2 separate regions of the Homo sapiens genome follow, and region 1 is linked to region 2. Evidence: promoter capture Hi-C in human tissues and cell types (Jung and others, 2019). All regions are on one chromosome and are shown on one strand. Each heading gives the region's core, a stretch centred on a gene start or on the middle of the fragment in contact. The rest is flanking DNA. Distances are from core to core; before and after follow the strand shown. Region 1 has its middle 50 kb from the start of TOP3B. Region 2 holds the start of MAPK1 (mitogen-activated protein kinase 1).

Region 1 (4,227 bases), core at 213-2,712, 160 kb after region 2:
GCCCTGACGAGGGGTCCCACTTTGCCCTTGGACAGAGAACAGGCCGTGGTCAAGGCCCTGGTCCGGGCAGAAGCCTCTGTCAGGACCCACTGGCATCTGGTCACAGACACGATGGACCTGGGCCTAGGCAGAAGGGGGTGCTGTTGGTCTGCTGCTGAGGGCTCTGTGGGTTTCTCAGCTGGGAAACCAAACACTTGAACTTGGTCTCCACGCAGGGTTCACTGGGGCCAGCAGCTGGGCTCTCTCTGCACCCTTGGAGAGCCTCAGGCCAGGCCCAGCCCAGGTAACCCCTCCCAGAAATGTCACCCCACCACTGGGACTGACACTCAGGCACACGGAGTGATTTGGTTGGGCAGAGGAAGAGGAGCACATTTGCATGAAGGGCCCCTCTCTCTCCTCTGGGACTACAGGGTGGGTAAGAAATACCTGCAACTGTCAGCCTCAGCAGAGCTCTGGGGAGTCTGCACCATGGCTTGGACCCCACTCCTCTTCCTCACCCTCCTCCTCCACTGCACAGGTCAGGATGGCCCTCAGCACCCTGACCTCCAGCTCACTGATACCACCTCCCAAACTTATGCCAGGAATGTCCTTCCCTCTTTTCTTGACTCCAGCCGGTAATGGGTGTCTGTGTTTTCAGGGTCTCTCTCCCAGCTTGTGCTGACTCAATCGCCCTCTGCCTCTGCCTCCCTGGGAGCCTCGGTCAAGCTCACCTGCACTCTGAGCAGTGGGCACAGCAGCTACGCCATCGCATGGCATCAGCAGCAGCCAGAGAAGGGCCCTCGGTACTTGATGAAGCTTAACAGTGATGGCAGCCACAGCAAGGGGGACGGGATCCCTGATCGCTTCTCAGGCTCCAGCTCTGGGGCTGAGCGCTACCTCACCATCTCCAGCCTCCAGTCTGAGGATGAGGCTGACTATTACTGTCAGACCTGGGGCACTGGCATTCACACAGTGACACAGGCAGATGAGGAAGTGGGACAGAAACCTCAGCCTGCTCAGGGTCTTGTTATATGACAAGTTTTAAATTTTCAAATATGTTTTATATGTACACACTCCACTTGGAAGCACCGTCTGGTTTAAAATGTTTCTACTCTCAATTTCTCATTCAAGTTTTCTGAAGTCTCAGGAAAACTAAAAACAGAAACAAAAATATCATGATGACTATGAAATATTACCTAATTTTCCAAATATGCTGAATTCAGTGCCTGTGGAGCTAACCATTTTCTCTTGACAGAAGAAAAATGAGCCTTAGAAATTGTTTCCAAATCCTGAAAGAGTCATCATTCCATGTACTCAGGACAGATTTAGAGAGTGCTGACCCTGCCCTTTGAAAGATGTTATTTGCCTCTTAGTGCCCAAATAAGGAAGGATAATTAGGAATCAGAAGCCTACCTAGGGCTCCCCTCTCTCCTCTCAAAATTGCACTTGGTGTCATATTGCCCTAGAATTTATGCCTGGTGCTGGCAAATATTTTTAAATTTATTTTTTAATCTTTTCCTTTTCTGCAATCAAATTTCTTGAGGGGCTGAGAAGAAGAAATAGGCCCAGAGAGAAGCAAGGCAGTCTGGGTGCAGGCTCTAGACAGCCCAGGGAGAAGAAAGAGGGAGCAGCTCCCTGTGTCCTGGAGGGAGCCCTGTCCCCATTGGGCTTCCTGCTCTGATGTCCCCTAGTGGAGGCTCCTCAGGGAGTCCAGCCTCCCAGAACTGCCCTATAAACCTCACAGTGAGCTAAGCAAGTATATCCAGGAAGGAGGGTCTGTGGAGATGTGAGACTAAGGTGTGTTATGGCCTAAACACTGCCCATCTCCATCCTTCTTGGGGATGACAAAGTGAACAGTGGAGGAGACAGGATACATGGGTGCATCTGGACCTCAAGCAGTAGGCTGTTCTGTGGTCTGTCCCTAAATCTTGTGCTGGAGACCCCATACGAGAGCCACTCCCTGACCCTGGGCTGGAGCCCTCTACCCCCTGCTCACAAGACCAGCAGCTGTTTCCTTATAGGCCCCCAGGGAGCCACAGAACAGCATCAACCAAGACCATCCTCTTCATGTGTCAGCTTTTCAGGGAGGGATCGAAGTCATGGCCCAGGAAAGGGCTTGGACAGCCCAGGGGAGGAGGCTGGTTGGTATGAAGGATGCCCTCCTCACCCTGAGCTGCTGGAGGGAGTACAAGGGACTTGGAGAGCCCAGGCTCAGTTGATGATCCTCAGGATGTAGAGCTATGTATGGGTCTCCACTGTGGTCTCTCCCCCGCCTTCTCCTTCACTGCACAGGTGGCTAGGGCTCAGTGTCAGGGCTGGTGATCAAAAGACCAAGGTTTATGCATGTGTCTCTGTCCACTGACCCACCTCTCACCCTGTGTCTGTCTTAATGTCCAGCGTCCTGAGCCCAGCCTGTGCTGACCCAGCCACCTGCAGTGCATGCATCTGTGGGGCAGGTGGGTACCAGCTCCTGCACTAGAAGCAGCAGCAATGTTGGGCACGGGCATGTGCTCTGGTACAAACATGCCTCCGAGAGACCCAGAGCTCCACATATATAAAAGCAGTCATTGACCCTTAGGGGCATAGGCCCAATGCTGAGGCTCCAGGTTGGAGAACATGGCCTCTCTGAGCATCTCTGGACTCCAGGCAGAGGAAAAGGCTGATTTTTATTCTCAGCTTGGGACACAAGCACCAAGGCTCAGGCAGTACTTCAGGCCAGTGGGGAAGTGGGAGAAAAAGCTGCTGCCCATCCAGCAATGGAGCTTCTCTGTGCAGCCCCCACTTCTTGGGCAAGTCAGCTGATTAACGTTGCTTTTCATTTGTTTAGTAAAAATTTAGATTTTAAAACTCACTCCAGTGAACGCAGTGTGGAGAATGTGTTTCTGTCCTCTCAATTCTACCCTCACACCCAACCCTTGGCAGTAACAAATTGTCGTATTGTCTCATATTAAGAGAAATCCCTCAATACCAAGATCAGGCTGTCCTGGAAACCAAATCCATAATGGGTCAAAACAGGACCAGGGTCATTGTGTCTGACTCAGGATAGTCGACTCCCAAAGGTCTGTTTATCCACCTCATTCACTGAGAAGCTACTATGCACCAGCCTCAGATCCAGGGATTCAAGGTACATGATGAACAAGAGAGGAAGGGGCCCTGTCCTCATGGAGCTGACACTGAGTGGTGGAACAGATAAGGCAATCAAGTAAAAATGTCAATGCGACAATATGATGTCATCACACAGTGAGGAGAGCTCAGTTGGGGGTAGAGGAGCCATCAGAAGGTTGGGCAAGGAAGACACAGGATCTGACTCAAGTTTATGAAGAAAAGTCCAGATGCCTCAAAGAAGATGAACAAGGAGACAGCAAGCATGAAGGCCACGGGGCCAGTTGGGGTCATTGGAGAGAAAGGTCAGGTCTAGCCTGTGTTTGTAAGAGGAGGGACTGAAGCCTGGGTGAGGAGAGAGGGCTCAGGAATAGCCTTGGAAAGTGGAGGGAGTGGATGCGAAACCCCTGCTGAGGGGGCCTCCATGAGCAATGAGGCTGGGGGAGGCCCTGAGCTAATCACCATGATGGAAACTCAGACAACAGCCTCCCAGCCTCTTTCAAAGTTGTCACAGGACGCTTTTCTCTCCAAATGGCAAGGGGGGAATCCCACTATGAGTTTTATTTGAGATGTCTCTTCTCCATGTCCTGTCCTGTCCCTAGGCTAAATTCCCATGCGCAAACAAGATACTGCTCAGTCTCAGGTATCACATTCACACACAAATGCTCCAGAATGAGGGAATGCACTCTGACCAACCCACCAGGAATTTTTGCCTTTGAGAATACTAGATCAGATCACTCACACCATCTCCCCTGACACCATCATGTTGACCAGTGGGTTGTCTGATCGGTTTGGACAGCAGAATGCAGATGCCTGTAGTTGCAGCTGGGGTCAGTCACATGCTCATCTCATGGCTGGGAGACTTTGGGTCCAGACAACAGGAAAAAAAGGAGGTTTGCCTACGTGATCCCACAATGTGCATCACTCTGTCATCCACTCCCATCCTTAGTTCATGTTGGGTTTTGTCCTGTAGATGCTGGGACCTGGACAGGATCACAAGCCAGGCGATTTCTGGCTCACAAAGTTACAGCTCAAGCTCCCTGATGTTGCTGACATTCTTCCCACAGACCAATTTTAGACAGACACACTATTGCCATGCAGGCACTGACCTGAGATACAGGTAGTCTCAGGAGAGGGAGGAAGCAG
Region 2 (4,726 bases), core at 1-2,500:
AAAAAAAACCGTCACTATCATTTCACTTTTCTAAGGGACCTGAATCAAGATGAGGGAGTCTACGTGTGATTCTGCAAGAACTCCATTAAGGCTGCATACATAATGACCACTAAATCATTAACAGGAGTCCATAGCAATTGGGCTAAAACATCTGGGAGCATTTATGCTGGTAAAAGAGCTCACTTGGGGGCTAAAAAAAAAGTCAAATTAGGCCCAACTCTAAACGGATCTTTAACAAATCAAGAGAGTAATGTTAGTTTATCCTTCCTGAAACGCCAGCAGTACGATATTAAAATCCACTTAGAAGTAAAAACTTCAAGACGGAAATATGCCACCAACACTGGCGTCAGTAATCCATTTTAGAAAGCCTGCGCGGAGACCACCATTAGCACCGCTGAGGATATTTAATGAAAGCCGTTGGCTGCAAACAGAGGCGAAGAGAGAAAAACGATTATTTCGGTGTTCTGCACACACGCGGAGGCAAAACGCTTTCAGGACCTCAGCAGCCACCGCCGCCAACACCGACAAGCATCTGATGGAATTCACAGTTTTACAATCGAAAGTCCAAAAGAAGGCCATGATACTAGCAAATTGAGGGGTGGGGACCCTTCCGTTGCCTTCCCGAGGGTCCAGACTTTAAAGGCCGCGCTGCGCCCGGGGCCAAGGGTCCACTAGTACCGGCCTACGCCCCCCGCGCCACTCCCTGAGCCCCTTCCCGAGCGACCGAAGGCCCGGGAACCGCGAGCAACAACACCTAAACCTCAACCGGCCCGGGGCCGCGCCCGAGCCCTGGCGCGCGGACCGCGGTGAAGTCCGGGTTCGAGGTCGCCGCGGCGCCTGAGGCCGAGGCGCGGGCGAGGCCGAGGCTGCGTCCGCTGCGGCCCCGGGCGGTGGGGGGGCCGGGCGTGGCCGGTCGCGGACACTCACCACACCATGCCGTAGGCGCCCTCGCCGATGTACGAGAGGTTGGTGTAGCGCGGCCCCACGTCGAACACCTGCCCGCGGACCATCTCCGGGCCCGCGCCCGCCGCCGCCGCCGCCGCCATGTTGGCTGCCGGGCCGCCGCCGCCTCCGCCGCGCTGAGCTCGACGCTCGGCGGCCGCCGCTCAGCTCTTGTCGCCCCTCCCGCAGGGACTGCGCCGCCGCCGGTGCAGCCGCCGACGCTGACCGGGAGGAGGAAGGAAGACGCCGAGCGGGAGAGCTGAAGAGCCGACAGCCACTCGGACCGATTGCCTGCCTGCCTGCCAGACTGACGGGCGGGCCGGCGGGCGGGCGGAGGGAGGGGCGCGCGCCGAGGAGGGTGCCGGGGCGGGGACAAGAAGTGTGCATGCGGATTGGTTCCTCGCGGCTGGGGGCGGGGCCGCGCGGGCCGGCGGAAGCGGCGGGCTTCGGGAGGGGCACTGCGACGGCGTTGACTGAGGGGGCGCCACTAGGCGCGGTCACGTGCATTCGCGGTGCATTCGCGGGGGCGTCGGTGCGGGTCGCGTCTCTTAAGACACCCAGGGAGACAGACGTGGGGCAGAACTCATGGGCTGAAGTGAGAGATGGCTGGGGCCCAGGCGAGCGACCGAGCAGGGTCCGAACAGAGCCAGCGAGGGACCCCGGGCTGTGCTTGAGGCCCGACGACGCGCCATATCCCGGCAGCGCCGCAGCTCAGGCCTCTGCGAATCTGTGGTCCACACGCTGATAAACTTAGAGGCCTCTGCACTGGGGCAGAAACCGAAAGGCATGACCCAGACCGAGAAAGATATTTGCATACTGAGAAAGTGTGAAACACAATTGTCGAGACTAAAAGGAGACACTGAGAGGATACGCCAATCAGGTTAGTTCAGATGTTTGTTGAGCACACTCCATGTTCCTGGGGATCCACCCTTATAGAAGTTACCTTTTAGAGAGAGGAGACAGACAAATACGTGTAATGCTCAAGTTGTGATAAGTACGATGAAGAAGTACAAAGCAGAAGGGAGGGCGCGGTGTCTCACGCCTATCATCCCAGCACTTTGGGAGGCCGAGGCGGGCGGATCACTTGAGGTCAGGAGTTTGAGACCAGGTCTCTACTAAAAATACAAAAATTAAGTCCGGGCGAGGTGGCTCACGCCTGTAATCCTAGCACTTTGGGAGGCCGAGGCGGGCGGATCACGAGGTCAGGAGTTCAAGACCAGCCTGGCCAACATGGCGAAACCCTGTCTCTACTAAAAATACAAAAATTAGCCGGGCGCAGTGGTGGGCGCCTGTCATCCCAGCTACTTGGGAGGCTGAGGCAGGAGGACAAAGCAGAGAGTAAGGGATTAGGGGGTGGTGGGTCGAAACACATGAGAGATACATTTGCGTTCAGAGACAGACCGAGATTGGTACAGATAGGCAGAAATGCTGACAGAGCAGGTAATGAAATAGAAATGCAAAGATAGAGTCACTAAAACCAAAACATCGAGGTTTAGAGAAAAAGAGACACACCAGGTTAAGAAACAGTCACAAACAACAGAGGTTGAAAAAATAAAAATTAGAGTCCTGAAGCAGGTGGATACCAAGGAAAGCTAAGACAACGAGACGGACAATGACCCAGGCACTGCTTCTGAACCTTTTCCCCTGCCATGTTTGGAGGGAGAAGGAAGAGCGGCAGACCCTATATCCTCTTTGTTCAACTCTTCCAAGTTTAAAACCATCAACTCTTGACTTCTAGACATCAACAAAGATTAATTAGTCAATCTCAAAGGAGAATAAACAAAGTTTTTTGTTTGTTTGTTTGTTTAACTCTCTGGTGGAAGCTGGTGTGGTGGCTCACGCCTGTAATCCCAACTTGGGCCCAAGAATTCAAGACTAGCCTGGGCAACACAGCAATACCCTGTCTCTAAAACAGAGAAACAAACAAACAAAAAATCCTGTGGGGGAAAAAGGATGTGACACATGAGAAAAGGAATAAACTGCTCCAGCCAAAATTTACTCCTTCAAAATATATTTAGCCCATGAAGCAGGACCCAATTTTAGAAAATACCTAATTCTTGAGTTAATGGGTGCAGCACACCAGCATGGCACATGTATACATATGTAACTAACCAGCACATTGTGCACATGTACCCTAAAACTTAAAGTATAATAATAATAATAAAAAGAAAATACCTAATTCTTATTCTCAAAAGAGGACATTGCATATTTTTTTAAAAAACAGGCCAAGATAAATGGAGTACCATGAAATTAAAACCACAATAACCGGCCGGGCGCGGTGGCTCACGCCTGTAATCCCAGCACTTTGGGAGGCGGAGGAGGGCAGATTGCCCAAGCTCAGAAACTGGGGACCAGCCTGGGCAACATGGTGAAACCCCGTCTCTACTAAGATACAAAAAATTAGCTGGGCCTGCCGGTGTGCCTGTAGTCCCAGCTACTCGGGAGGCTGAGGCAGGAGAATTGCTTGAACTCGGGAGGCAGAGGTTACAGTGAGCTGAGATCGCGCCACTGCACTCCAGCCTGGGCCACAGAGTGAGACTCCGTCTCAAAAAAAAAAAAAAAAAAGAGGCCGGGTGCGGTGGCTCACGCTTGTAATCCCAGCACTTTGGGAGGCCGAGATGGGCGGATCACAAGGTCAGGAGATCGAGACCATCCTGGCTAACATGGTGAAACCTCGTCTCTACTAAAAATACAAAAAAAAAAAAAAAAAAAATTAGCCGGGCGTGGTGGCGAGTGCCTGTAGTCCCACCTACTCCGGAGGCTGAGACAGGAGAATGGCGTCAACCCGGGAGGCGGAGCTTGCAGTGAGCCGAGGTCACGCCACTGCACTCCAACCTGGGTGACAGAGCAAGACTCCGTCTCAAAAAAAAAAAAAAAAAAAGTAGACTTGATGCAGAAGAGTACATCAGCAATATAGAAGATAAACATGAGAAAATTTTCAAGAATATAGAACAAAGTGATGGAATCCTGTAAGAGAAGATAATGGGGATGGACAGCATCTAGGGATTCTAACTCTAGGCATCCCCACAGGAAGACAGAGCAAATCGGTTAGAGCGAATAATCAAAATTACAATAGGAGAAAAGTTTCCTTAGGTTGCAAAAAGGTCTGAGGTGGAGGTGGGAAATAGAGTGGGTTCACTGAGATTGAGAAAAATTAAGAAGAAACCAACAACACATAATCTGGGAAAATCATTAAGTTTCAGGGATAAAGAACAGACACTAATAGACCCAATTAGGGAAAAAAATGTTATTTATAAAAAAGCTGGCCAGCAGGCACGGTGGCTCGTGCCTGTAATCCCAGCACTTTGGGAGGCCGAGGCGGGCGGATCATGAGGTCAGGAGTTCTAGACCAGCCTGGCCAACATGGCGAAACCCCATCTCTTCTAAAAATACAAAAATTAGCTGGGTGTGGTGGTGTGTGCCTGTAATTCCAGCTTCTTGGGAGGCTGAGGCAGGAGAATTGCTTGAATCCAGGAGGTGGAGGTTGCAGTGAGCCGAGATCGTGCCACTGCACTCCAGTCTGGGCAACAGAGTGAGATTCCGTCTCCGGGGGAAAAAAAGATGGCTGGGCGAGGTGGCTCACACCTGTAATCCCAGCACTTTGGGAGGCTGAGGCGGGTGGATCACCTGAGGTCAGGAGTTCGAGACCAGCCTGGCCAACGTGGTAAAACCTTGTCTCTACTGAAAATACAAAAATTAGCCGAGCATGATGGCTGGCACCTGTAATCCTAGCTACTTGGGAGGCTAAGGCAGGAGAATCGCTTGAACCCGGAAGGCATAGGTT

What was found. Contacts are between HindIII fragments. The study calls those that stand out against the background at their distance.
Region 1: a fragment that was not itself captured here is called in contact with the fragment with the promoter of MAPK1 in region 2 in 1 of the 25 tissues and cell types used here (lymphoblastoid cells).

The regions. Positions count from the first base shown.
Region 1 is chr22:22,030,526-22,034,752 of GRCh38, forward strand. It overlaps the pseudogene PRAMENP, IGL, IGLV4-69 and the pseudogene IGLVI-68. Among named protein-coding and RNA genes, the nearest start is that of TOP3B, 50 kb to the left of the region's middle. RefSeq lists enhancers at 1-452, 1-89, 453-1,232, 530-609, 750-809 and a silencer at 880-999. The HindIII fragment of the contact is 9,029 bases long and covers 1-4,227 here.
Region 2 is chr22:21,866,395-21,871,120 of GRCh38, forward strand. MAPK1 (mitogen-activated protein kinase 1) reads right to left here and starts at 1,251. Exons shown (of 9, transcript NM_002745.5): 1 at 928-1,251. The coding sequence starts at 1,046. RefSeq lists a silencer at 1,182-1,421. The HindIII fragment of the contact is 55,514 bases long and covers 1-4,726 here.